Regions from separate parts of the Homo sapiens genome. Here all the other regions are linked to region 3. Evidence: promoter capture Hi-C in 16 types of primary human blood cells and fetal thymus (Javierre and others, 2016). All regions are on one chromosome and are shown on one strand. Each heading gives the region's core, a stretch centred on a gene start or on the middle of the fragment in contact. The rest is flanking DNA. Distances are from core to core; before and after follow the strand shown.

Region 1 (4,263 bases), core at 33-2,532, 1.1 Mb before region 3:
TCTATCTTTTCTCAAAATGTGTTACTTTTATTGAAAAATATAATTTTCCAAGGAATTGTAATAGCAAAGTGCCAAGAAAGAAAATATACCTTATTTTATTTTTTTTTCCTTGTTCATCTTTTAGAGCACAGCAAAATATTCTTAGCTTGCTTTGTGTAAGGAAGAAAAAGCAAAACATCATTTTCAAGTTTTTAAAATAAATATTTACTTTTTTTTGAATTTTGTTGGCAAAATAAACAGCTACAGATGCATAATTTGTAATCAGTCTCAGCTAGATATAGATATATCTGTACAACTAAAAGGAATTGCTAATGATGATATATTGGTAGCAGAGAAAGGGGAAATAAATATAAATAAGGACTTCACAAAAATGAAAGAAGCGGTGAATTCCTAGAGGGTAAATATACAGAATACCAAATCAGTTCTCATATAAATGATACATATTAAACACTTAATGAATTAGGGATAGTTCTTTTTATTAATAACTTATGTTTAATGTTGAAACATTAATGGTAGATTTTTAAAATTGTCATTTTACAGTGGTATAATTTTAATTTTTAAACCAGATAATACAATCACGTGGTTCAGAAATTTTAACATGTATTTAAAAAATACATAGAAGAAAATTTCCCTCTCATACTTCTTCCCAGTTTCTTTATATATATAGAAGCAAATACAAATGTGTGAATACATTCTTATTTTCATTCCACTTTTTTAAAAAGATAGCATATTATTTTACACTTTGCTTTTCAGAATTTGTCCGGGTATATTTTTAATGTCTATTTTGTTAGCGCTCTGATTTAGGCATCTAGGGAGACATATTGGAATCATAGCAAAAAGATAGGGTTTATTAATTGATATTTCTTATCCCTTATGCTTATAGCAATTCCACATTTTAGAAGGAAATATTTAAAAGCACACATTTTGTCTATGTAGGGTCAGAAAATTGATTTTCCTTTTGTTGTCCAAGTTCAGTGATAACTTTAGTAGCTCTTTCTACTGACAGACCAATTCATTCTGTAAGAGCTACAAACTGAAATAGTCTCTAAAGAATATGTATTTATACATGCTATTTCTTCTGCCTGAAACTATTTTCTTTTCTATATTACTCCCATTTATCCTTCAACTATCAAGTTAGATGTGCTTCCTTGAGGAAGCCTGGTTGTATAGGTGAGCATGACTCTCCCCTGTGCCTCCACAGTATTCCCATTGGCCTCAAAGCACTTAACGTGTATTAATTTTTAGTTATTTAAACATTACCATTTCTCTTACTAGATTGTAAGTACCATGAAGACAGAGACCATCTCTGTCTCATTCACAGTGATATTTTTAGTGCTTGTAGCAGTAGGGTGAATATTAAGTACTGTGCTGTACGTGTGGGCAATCTGAATGTCTGCTGCTCAGATTCACTGTACTTTCTCTTGTAGCTACTTAACTCATCCTTATTGCCTGTATAATTCTCAGCTTAAATTTTACTTCCCCTGGGAAATTTGTTTTTATCTTTTTGACTGTGTTACATTTCATTTTCTCAGCTATTATAGCACTCTGAACTTCATCTTTCATTAAATTCTTCACAGTTTTTTGTAACTGCTTATTATTTGTCTGAAACCCCCATTATCTTTATCTTACTGTCCTCTAGCACAGAGGTTGACACAGGCTTAGCAGTTGATCAATAGGTACTGGTTTAAAAAAAAAGAATGAATGCATACTTTAGATCAGTGATTCTCAACTGGCATGATTTTACTTCCCAAATAACATTTGACAGTATGTGGGGACATTTTTTATTATTTTGATTGGCCCATAGAGGCCAGGGATGCTGTTAAACCTCCTACATTGCACGGAACAGCCCCCACAACAAAGAGTCAACTGCCCCAATGTCAGTAGTATTGCTGTTAAAGAACCCTGCTTTAGACTGTGGATTTCTTTGCTTTCTCCATATTGTCTTAGATTTATAGATTTATAAATGTATAGGGCTTTTGAATATACTTGAACAGATATCTTAACCATTTTGTCTTTTTTCTTTAAATTCTATATTTTGTGACAATTTAACTTTTTTGACGTATAGAAATTGTATGTATTTAGGGCATACAGCTTGATGTTTTGATATACATTGTGAAATAATCACTACATTCCAGCTAATTAACATCTGATATCTCTGTCTACCTGCCATTTTTGTACCCTTTGACCAGCATCATCCCATTTCTAGTTCCTTCCGTTTCCAGGCAGCCACCATCCTAATCTCTGCTTCTATGAGTTTGACTAATTGAGATTCCATGTATAAGTGAGATCATGCAGTATTTCTCTTTCTGGCTTATTTTTGCTTAGTACAGTGCTCTCCAGCTCCATCCACGTTACCACAAATGGCATAAATTACTTTTCTGGGGGTAAGGCTGAATAATATTCTGTTATATGTACACCACGTTTTCTTTAACCATTCATCCATCGCAGGGCATTTAAGTTGCTTCCATATCTTCGCTATTGTGCATAAAGCTGCAGTGAATGGGAGAGAGCAGATATCTCTTCATGATCCTGTTTTCAATACTTCCAGATACATACTCAGAGGTGGGATTGCTGAATCATAGGGTGGTTCTGTCTTTAATTTTTTGAGGAACCTCAATACTGTTTTCACTAATGGGCTGTACCAATTTACATTCTCACCGAAGTATACAAGGGTTCACTTTTCTCCATATCCTTGACAACACTTGTTATTTCTTGCCTTTTTGATAATAGGCATCCTCGTAAATGTGAAGTGCTGTCTTATTGAGGTTTTGATTTGCATTTCCCTGCTGATTAGAAATGCTGAGCAGCTTTTCAATAGGTCTGTTGGCCATCTACGTTTCTTATTTTGAGAAGTGTCTATTCAGGGCCCTTACCCATTTTTAACAGGTTATTTGTATTTTTAATATTGAGTTGTATGATTTTATATATTGGATATTAACCCCTGTGGATGTATAGTTTGAAGATTATTTTTTCTCATTTCATAGGTGACCTTTCACTTTGTTCATTGTTTCTTTTGCTGTGCAGAAGGTTTTTAGTTTGATATAGTCCCACTTGTCTATTTTTGCTTCTGTTGCCTGTGCTTTTGGTGTTATATCCAGAAAATAGTTGCCAAGACCAGTGTCAAGAAGTTTTTCTTTGTTTACTTCTAGGAGTTTTACAGTTTCCACTTTTGTGTTTAAATGTTTAATCCATTTGAGTTGATTTTTGTGTATGGTGTGCACCTTTTTGTCTTTCCATTCACCCCGTACAATGTGGTAGTTAGTATATATTTTGGAATCTGGAATAAAATACTTGGGTTCAAATATCTTTTCTACCAATTTCTTTATGACTCTGTTTTGTGATCCATGAGAAAAGGGTACTATGTTAGATTGAACTACCTCATGGAGCTATTTTGAGAATAAAGTGATTTAAGAACACTCAAACCAGTAACTGGTGAAAAGTGAAAAACTCAGTCGATGTTAGCCCTTAGAAGTTATTGCTGCCTTAATTATTCTGTGTAAAGGGCATAGTAGGGGATAAAACTAGAGAGGATGAATAAGGCTAGGTAAGTGGGCACGGGGAGGTGGTCTTTGGTTGTTAGGTTGAGAAGCTTGTATTATTTTCAGTAAACCATCTAACCAGATGGATTCAGGATCAGTTGTATTTGATAGGGCCTGTTGATAATAGGGATAACAGTTAGGTTGATCACAATAGCCTGGGTGAAAAAGTAATAGAGATAATTGGTGGAATATGGAATTGGTAGAGATCGCATCAAAGATGATTCGAGAGTTTTGAACCTTTCTGGTTAGGAGCATTATGTTAATCAGAAATGGAAATCAGAATGGAGATGAACTAGTTTTTTGTTTAAGAATATAAATGATTCAGTTTTAGATTTAAAACTTTAGGCTGCCTTTAGGGTACTAATGAATAAGCCAGTGCCTGGCATACTTTTATTTGGGAGAAAGTTAGGACAAAAGATGAAGATTTGGGAGTAATTTTCATTGTAAGTGTATTTGGAGTCTTAGAGGAGTGGATGCTGTATAATGTGTAACAGTGAAAAGACAAATAATAGATTCTTGAAGAATGTGCGTTCATAATTGATTCCATTGTTTTACTGTCTCTAGTAGCATTACTGTCTAGGATTTCTAAAGTTTTCTTTAAAAATAAATGCTGTAATAAAACTAATATTATAGTAAGGACAGGGATCTTTCTTAGCTTCAGATGTGATCTTTGTGAAGAAGGCATTATGTCTCAGGTTTTACTGTAGAACCTGGTGATAACTAC
Region 2 (4,262 bases), core at 1,664-4,163, 1.2 Mb before region 3:
TAGAGCTATGTTGTCATTTCACTGACTGTTAGCAGCAGTAAAAAGTCAAAAAATGGTTAGACAGTGTTACTGTGTGTGTGTGTTCTTTTAAATTTGTTAATGTGAAACTGAGGATCTTAATATGAGTCCATTGAATTTCTGGGAAGATGACATAAGGTAAAGTCCTCAAGACTGCCCCCTCTTCAGACACAGTTGCAAGTCTTAGCCTCCAGAACTTCTGACCAGCTAGCTTCAATTTGGAGTTCTCACAACCCCCTCTTTGGATTCAATTAATTTGCTAAAGCAACTCACAGAATTCAGGGAAACTTACGTTTACTGGTTTATTTTAAAGGATATTACAAGGAATACAGATGAAGAGATGCATAGGATGAAGCATGGGGAAAAGAGTGCAGAGCTTTCACGTCCACCCTGGATGTGCCACCCTCCAGTAACGTCCACGTGTTCTGCTGTCTGGAAGCTCCCCAAACCCTGTCCTTGGTCTTTTGTGGAGGCTTCATTATGTAGGCGTGAGGGAGTAAACCATTGACCATTGGTGATCAACTTAATCTTCAGCCCGTTCTCCTTCCTAGAAGATGTGGGGTGGTGTTGAAAGTCCCAACACTCTAATCTTGCCATGTTCTTTCCTAGTCCCCATCCCGAAGCTACCTAGAGCTGCCAACCATCAGTCAACTCATTAATATACAAGAAAGCATCATTTTGGTGTTTCTGAGGATTTTAGGATTTGTATGCCAGGAAACGGTTGAAGAACAAATATATGTATATTTCACAATATCACAGATGCAAACAAATGATGTTTAAATTATCTGGTCTTTTTCTGAGATTCATTAAGTTTAGATTGTATTTCTATGGAATTATAGTATAAATCATAATTAGGTGCCTAAACTAGCCTCTAAAGCTTATTCCTAAGGTAGCTAAATTACTTATTATGTATATATACTATGAAAAATGACAAAATGTACTGTTTCAACACTGGTAATTAAGCAAACTGCCATTGTAACATAAGAAGTTTATGAAAACTATTTTGAATAATTTAAAAACTTTGGGGAAAACTGGATTTTATAAGATAAGGAGATAGAGACTATTATATAAGGAGGTTGTGAAAGGGGTTTTGACACTGATTCTTTATTGTCTAGATGGATTAAACAACTTATTACTTTAAATTTTGCTTTATACAGAAGTGTCACTAGCTTTGATCAGAGTTTTCGTTGGTTCATGAATGGAACTAAGTTAAAGGAGGTGAGAAGGAGAAATACGTTTTTTCTTTTTAAAAAGTTGTAAAATATACTTAAGATTTCTTATTTAAAAAAAAGAGTTGAAAGAAACAGGAAAAAATGGGTTAAAGAAGACATGGGTATATCTTGCAAAAGAGGTTATCAGAGGCAGAATTTACTGAGCAGTGAGGTAATGAGAGAAACAGGCAAAGTGTGCATGAGCCCCATGGGGAAGGAAGAAAGTTGGAGTTTGGCAAGTCAGCTGTTCTTGTATTGTTTTTTGAACACATGACAGGTGTTGGTGAGTAGGGGGCATGGTGTGACCAACTGCTCCTATGTGAGGAAGGTTTATATATTCTGTCTGGGAAAGTGGTCTGAATTTTCTTTATAAGAAATTTTAGTATACTTGAATTTATTTCTGTATACTAATACAACATTGAGAATTAGCTTTCAGGGACTTCTGTGCCAATTCTATTGGGAATAAAAATGAGAAGAAAGGTAGCTTGTATAGAAATAGCAGAGGTTTGGTAGTGAATTCTTATGAGAGAAAAGATGTACAGAGAAAGTAAACTCTAGAATTAGCATTATACACTTGTCTATGTTGAAGGATGGTAAATAGATGGTGTGTCTCTTGGCATGAAGTTACCAGGTAAAGGGCTAGTATTATGTAACCCTTGGTATTAAGGATATGTTAGGGACATTACAGTGGGATTTCATCATAGGCACATTAAACCTCCTTACATTTAGCTGTATATATTGAGGCAAAAACAACAACAACAAAAAACCCATTAACATGTTTTTTTTTTTTTTAAGTTAAAAAAAAAATAGAGATGTGGTCTCACTATCTTGGCCAGGCTAGTCTTGAACTCCTGGCCTCAAGTGATTCTCCGCTTTGGCCTCCCAGAGTGCTAGGATTACAGACGTGTATCACTATGCTTAGCCTTCTTGACTGTAAGCAATAGAAATCAACTTTGGCTAATTTATGCAACGGAATAAATAAGGAGAACCACTTTTGGAAAATGGATAGGAATCAAGGGAAGCCAGCAGCAAGGACCAGAGCCAAGGTCAGGGCACAGGAACACTTTGATTAGGAAGCCACCATTAGCACTTGCTGACAATGTCTTTGCTGTTGCTATAAATAATTCTGCAACTATTCTTGTGCCTCTCTGTCACTCAAGTTAAAAGTTTTGGGAAAGGAACATGGATAGTCTGGTCTAGATCCTGAGCCTATTTCCAGCCTGCTAGGGGTAGGGAAAATCTGGGCCTTTGGTTTCCATCTAAACTCATGGTGTCCATCGTTTCTTCCAAACAAAATGGGACAATTACTGCTTCCTTCTTAAATGCCCCATGGCTCAGTAAATATGCCCAGTTCCTGAAGCCAGAACTTGGAACTTCTCTCATTTTCTCAGTCACATATCCAGTAAATAGCATATTGAATTACTGTCAGTCTGCAACTTGAATATCTTGAGTTTATCTATTTATCTCTAAAATTATTGTTACTACTGTCGTAGTCACTGTGATTTCTCACATGGTCTATTACAGAGGCCTTATAATTTCTCTTGTCTACAGATTGACCCCTATTCTGTTGGGGTATACATTATGTGGTGATGAACTTTTAAAAATGCAGGTGAGATTATGTCATTAGTTTGCTTAAAACATTTTAGTGGTCTGCATTTATTTACCTCCCATCTCTCAGTTCGAGTCCACCCTTTTATTCTGTGTTAGGGGCTGGGACTTTGCAACCTACATTTCCCAGACTCCCTTGCCAGCTTACTTCGTGTTAAGTTTTACCACTGGGAGCACAGGCAGGAATTTGGAAGGTGAGAGAAGGGACTACTCTTATTCCCAGTTTCTGTAAGGACACCTCCAATAGCAAAGGACAACTATTACTCCATTCTCCAACTTCTTTTGTCACTCTCTGCACCAGTCTTGCTGTTTCCTCTCAGAGATACCAGCTTCTGGGCAAGGCATCCTAGGTAGATAGAGTGCCACTTGTATCACTTCCTAACCTGCTGGACTTTATTCCCTTAGTGGTTTGACCATCCTCTATTGGACACCTGTTCATAGGGATTCAAACTTAAGCTACAGGGCCATTTGTGGCCACCTCCTTAGAGGTTAGAGCATTCTGCCACATGGACCTCTTTCACCTTCTTCCAGGCATAGCCCTATAATGCTTTTCTTCCAAGCTCCTAGCTTTTCAATAACAGACCTCTTTCATTTTGTTCCCCTAGTCCTGCGGGTCATAGTGCTTCCTGCAACTATTAATCTCTGAGTTATTTCAGCCTTCCTGTTCTATGTTCTCAGCTTTCCAGTATCTTTGTAACCAATGTGCTGTATTATATATATCTCCTGGGTTTGAATTCTGCATTATGGTTTCTGTTTGTCTCATACAAGTAGTTTTTTGTTTTCTAAGATAAAGTTAAAAAAAAAAGTTAAAATAACTAGTAGCTGGGGGTGGGGGGATTAAACAGATTTTCAGACTGAGTACGGTGACTTATGCCGGTAATCCCAGCACTTTTGGAGGCTGAGGTGGGAGGATTGCTTGAGCCCAGGAGTTTGAGGCTGCAGTGAGCTATGTTCACACCACTGCACTCCAGCCTGGGTGACAGAGTGAGATCCTGTCTCAGAAAAAAAAAAAAGTTTTCATAATTCCTATTTGTCTGTTACTTCTTTAGTCTCATTTCATACCATTTTCCTGCTTTCTCTTTACACTTGAGTATTCTGAACCTTTTTTAGTTACCAGAACATTGCTGCATTCTATCTTGTCTGAAGGACATTGCACCTACTAGTCTGTGTACTCCAACCCTCCCATCCCTCATTTCTCTTCTTCTCTCACATTACAACCTGTGCTGGGTTGACTCCTACATATTGAATGTGAGGGTTAGTATACTGTAGAGGGTGTACAAACAAACTATTGTCTAAATTTTAATATCAGCGTTGCCGTTGTGTCAGCGTTATGACATTGGGCAATGTCTCAGTTTCCTCATCTGGAAAATGGGGATAATAATTTTACTGACCTGGTGAGGTTGTTGTAAGGATTAAATGAGTTAA
Region 3 (4,156 bases), core at 93-2,592:
CAGGGTATCACCATGTTGAACAGGCTGGTCTCGAACTCCTGACCTCGTGATCCGCCTGCCTCGGCCTCCCAGTGCTGGGATTACAGGCGTTAGCCACCGCGCCCGGCATCATTTTCTTTTCTTTTCATTTTTTTCAGACAGAGACTCGCTCTATCACCCAGGCTGGAGTGCAGTGGCAACATCTCGGCTCACTGCAACCTTCGCCTCCCGGGTTCAAATGATTCTCCTGTCTTAGCCTCCCGAGTAGCTGCGACTACAGGCGCGCGCCACCACGCTCGGCTAATTTTGTATTTTTAGTAGAGACGGGGTTTCACCATTTTGACCAGGCTGGTCTCGAACTCCTGACCTCAGGAAGATCCGCCTGCCTCGGCCTCCCAAAGTGCTGGGATAACAGGCGTGAGTCACCATGCCCGGCTACACAGATCACTTTCTAAATTAGCGCTGTATTTGATTCTTATTTTAGGTATGTGACTAAAAGTACAACTTCTAGAAACACTTTTTTCCCCTTCCGCTTACAAAATGGATCCATCCAATATCTATTACCTAAACATTTCACTGTCTTTTGATTAGTTTTGTAACAAAGTTCACAATATATGCACCAATATTCAACAGAAGTAATGCAATGTCTGATACCACTTGCTTTTTACCCAACGCAAAACAATTTGATTCTGTAAGTCGTTCAAGTCCTATTCATTTACAGAAGCAAAGCTGGCTTTACAGAATTTCATTAGTGGATGAAGCAGCTACCTCCGAAGGGTAGAGCATCGAGTTGAATCAAGGATCCTGTAACCTGATACTATTACTGTTGTTCTGTCTGCCAGTCCTAAATAGGTTTCATAATCTCATTATCTCCTATCCTCTCCATGTGAAAGGTCTTGTTTTGGGTACTGTCGCTACCGAAATTAAGCTAACTTTGACTAGAGATTGGTTTATTATATTTCCCAGATCTGAAATCACTGTGGGAGCAACTATACGGAGAATCTTAAAAGATTTCTATGTCGCTTAGCCTGCTTTTGCCACGGGTTCGCTTTCCCATCTCCCACTGTCTCAGAACCTTCTCTTTTTTTCTCTTTTGCTTAGTTCCTCTTACACTCAAGCTGTGTAGGGGGATTTAAATTCCAACCCGGAACTCGGAATCGCGCGCCTTGCATGACGGAAGTCGTAGTTTCTGTGACTCCTCCCTTCCCGCCTTTCAAGCCGATTCCTCCCGGTACCTAAAAACTACAACTCCCAAAATGCATCCCCGGTTTGGCCCGCCCCCGTGCGCAAGCGCTCTGAGGCCGCCGGATTTGAATCGGCGGCGTTGTTATTGACGCCATATTGGGGCCGGCGGCGGGTGGGAGAGTTCTACGAGGGAGGGGAAGCGGTTGGACGTGTTCGCTTGGGTTCCTGCTGCGGCAGCTACCTCGCAATCTCTCTGCATCGATCGCCGCTCGCAAGCTACTGACCGTACTCGGGCGTATTAGGAGCCGCGTTCCAGCCTCACACCCCACGGTGCTGTTTTCGACTTCAGAAAGGATCTAGTCTCAGCACAGAAGCGCCTCAGGCGCGGCGCAAAGCTCGAGCGGACGGCGGGGGCGGCCGGAGCCTCTCTCGGGGGAGCCGCGCCTGAGGAGGCGGAAGAACCCCCCTGACGCGACTGGCGTGTGCTTCTGCCCGCCACCGCCCCTCCCGCTCTCACCCGGGCCGTCCCTGGCCACTGCCCCTGCCGCGGAGGCAGCGGCGGCAGCGGCTCTCCTTTCCACAGCCGGCGCTCCGCGACCCGCTTGGCTCCTGAGCCCGTCGGGTAGGCTCTCCTCGAGTTCCCGCTCTTCACCCCTTCCCTCACCCTCTTCTTTCGTCACCCGTCCCCGACCCCACCCGAGCCCGGCGCCTCAGCTGCCCCCGGCCATGGCGTGCGGAGCCACTCTGAAAAGGACTCTGGATTTCGACCCGCTGTTGAGCCCGGCGTCCCCGAAGCGCAGGCGATGTGCGCCATTGTCGGCGCCCACCTCGGCCGCTGCCTCCCCGTTGTCGGCGGCCGCGGCCACCGCCGCCTCCTTCTCCGCTGCGGCCGCCTCGCCGCAGAAGTATCTCCGAATGGAGCCATCCCCCTTCGGCGACGTCTCCTCCCGCCTCACCACAGGTGGGACCCGGCCCCGCGGCCGCCGGGGTAGTGGAGAGAACTGGGAACAGGGGTCCTGGGGTGTGGGATGCGGCCCCTGGGGTGGGGGTGCCGGACTGTGTGGTTCTTGTTCTTAGCAAAGTAGTAGGGCAGCCACGTTTTTCACTAGGTCCTCGTAGCCCGAGGACCTAATAAGACACAATAGAAATGGGCTGATGTCAAGGGGATAGTGTTTGGAGGTGGGTAGGGGCTTTGCCTTGCCCGTATTGGGTAGAACAGGGACATCTTTTTCTTTGGGCCGAATGATTGGAATTGTTTCCGTAGTCGCTGGAGCCCCAGCGGAAATGATCAGAGAGGACGATATTATTCGTAAATTTAGGCGAAAGGGTCACATTTCACCCCAATCTGGATGTGTGCTTGCCGTAATCGATTGGTTGCAGCTATTAACTCTGGGACTGGGTGGTTTGAGGCGAGGCTACAGCCCCTCCTTCAGTTCAGACACGGCTGATTTTAGTATAGTGGGGGTGGGGGGTGGGGGATGGATGTCACTAGGGCGAGATCTAGGCCTGTCATTAATCACCCACAAGAACGCCACTTTGGCTGAGTCAAGACCTGTTTCCCTAGCAGGGTCAACAACAAAGAAAATGCTCTTCCCGAGTACTGTAATATGATCACACTATAAGTCTAGACCTTGAGAAATGTTGAACTTTTAATAAGCATATTGCATTGAAAATTGGGGCTGAGGAGTTGCTTTTATTTGGAAATGTTTTATTTTTGCCCAACAAAGTATGCTGGGGGAAAACAACCTAGCCTTGAGAATAATGAAGAAATCAACCCAAGATTCCAAGGGACTTCAGACTTTTGCTTTTCATCTTGAAACATTTCCTGAGAGAGACTGGGGAATGTCTTTTGGCTGCTTTGTAGGGCATGTGTATGCCCAGTTTTTTCTGTACTTTGAAATCCTTGTGTGCCCCTGGCACAATCCTAGGATAGGCTTTTGTGGACTAGAAGTGTAAATGTTTCCTTTGTGTGTAGCATGCAAAGATTTCTGTGTGAGCCTTTAGTAATAATATCACCCTTTAGACAAAGCCTTTCCATAGCTTGATTTAAATGTCTCGTTATCAGTAGCTTAAAAAACCGAAGTATATACCTCTGTATTTGGTGACTTCCATTTGAAACTGACTTTAGTGTTTTTTTTTTTTTGTCACATTTAAAAATATTTTCTAAATCCATGGAGTGACCCTCGAATATGCAAGCTACCATTTTTGCTATTAAATATTTGGTCTAATTTAAGGACATACTGTTTTAGAGTTGTAGTGAGTTTTTACGGAAATTCTTAGATAAATTTATTTAATGACCTTACTAAACTGTGTTTTAATTAGATTGAAAAGGCATTTGTTGATTAATTGTTAGGCTTTACTTTGGGAAAAAAAAAAGGAAACAGCCAATGTCAAGAATGAGCTACTGGTGGTTGACATTTTTGGAATTTGTCTTTTAGTGAAATGGTATCATTGGAAATTGAAATGGATTCTGTACTTAACTAATAAAGCCATTTCAAAATAAGGTCATTAAGGAGCTAACCAGCAATACATTTCAGTCGAGGGAGTGAATTAATACAGTGCTAGGTTTGGGAATTAAAGTACTATATCTCAATGTCAAAATAATCTTGGGCATGTATGTGAACAATTGGGGACTATACCATGTTCCTCCCCTTTAAAGCACACTTATTCAGAATTGTGATCCTTTGTAAACGACTTTTCATTGGCATATCTGTAGCGTTGGTTAATACAGTTGGCTCCACATTATCTCAAGTTTAAATTAATTGGACTGTTGTAGTAAAACGACTGGAATTATTGGAATTGTTTAAGCCAGCTGATTGAGATTCACATTCACTTTCCAAAATACTGCTATTTTCTTCAAGGTGTTTTTTTTTTGACATCTACTTTGGAAGTTTGATTATATCCTGAAACCTAAAATCACATCCTTATTGATTCTGAGTCTGCTAAAAGTTATTTCCAAACTAATTTGAATATTATCGCAAAAAGTTTACTT

Evidence for each region. Contacts are between HindIII fragments. The CHiCAGO score rates a contact against its expected background, and 5 or more counts as called.
Region 1: a fragment that was not itself captured here is called in contact with the fragment with the promoter of AKIRIN2 in region 3 in 2 of 17 cell types (naive B cells and total B cells); the score reaches 7.7 in naive B cells.
Region 2: a contact is called between a fragment that was not itself captured here and the fragment with the promoter of AKIRIN2 in region 3, in 5 of 17 cell types (total B cells, total CD4 T cells, naive B cells and 2 more). The highest score is 6.3, in total B cells.

Annotation. Positions count from the first base shown.
Region 1 is chr6:88,781,336-88,785,598 of GRCh38, reverse strand. All of the region lies in intron 12 of RNGTT (RNA guanylyltransferase and 5'-phosphatase), which reads left to right. Among named protein-coding and RNA genes, the nearest start is that of RNGTT, 180 kb to the left of the region's middle. The HindIII fragment of the contact is 4,619 bases long and covers 1-3,591 here.
Region 2 is chr6:88,858,584-88,862,845 of GRCh38, reverse strand. The region is part of intron 8 of RNGTT (RNA guanylyltransferase and 5'-phosphatase); the gene reads left to right. Among named protein-coding and RNA genes, the nearest start is that of RNGTT, 100 kb to the left of the region's middle. The HindIII fragment of the contact is 4,031 bases long and covers 898-4,262 here.
Region 3 is chr6:87,699,419-87,703,574 of GRCh38, reverse strand. AKIRIN2 (akirin 2) reads left to right here and starts at 1,342. Exons shown (of 5, transcript NM_018064.4): 1 at 1,342-2,125. The coding sequence starts at 1,891. RefSeq lists enhancers at 771-1,080, 1,391-1,450 and silencers at 1,611-1,780, 1,961-2,170. The HindIII fragment of the contact is 11,354 bases long and covers 1-4,156 here.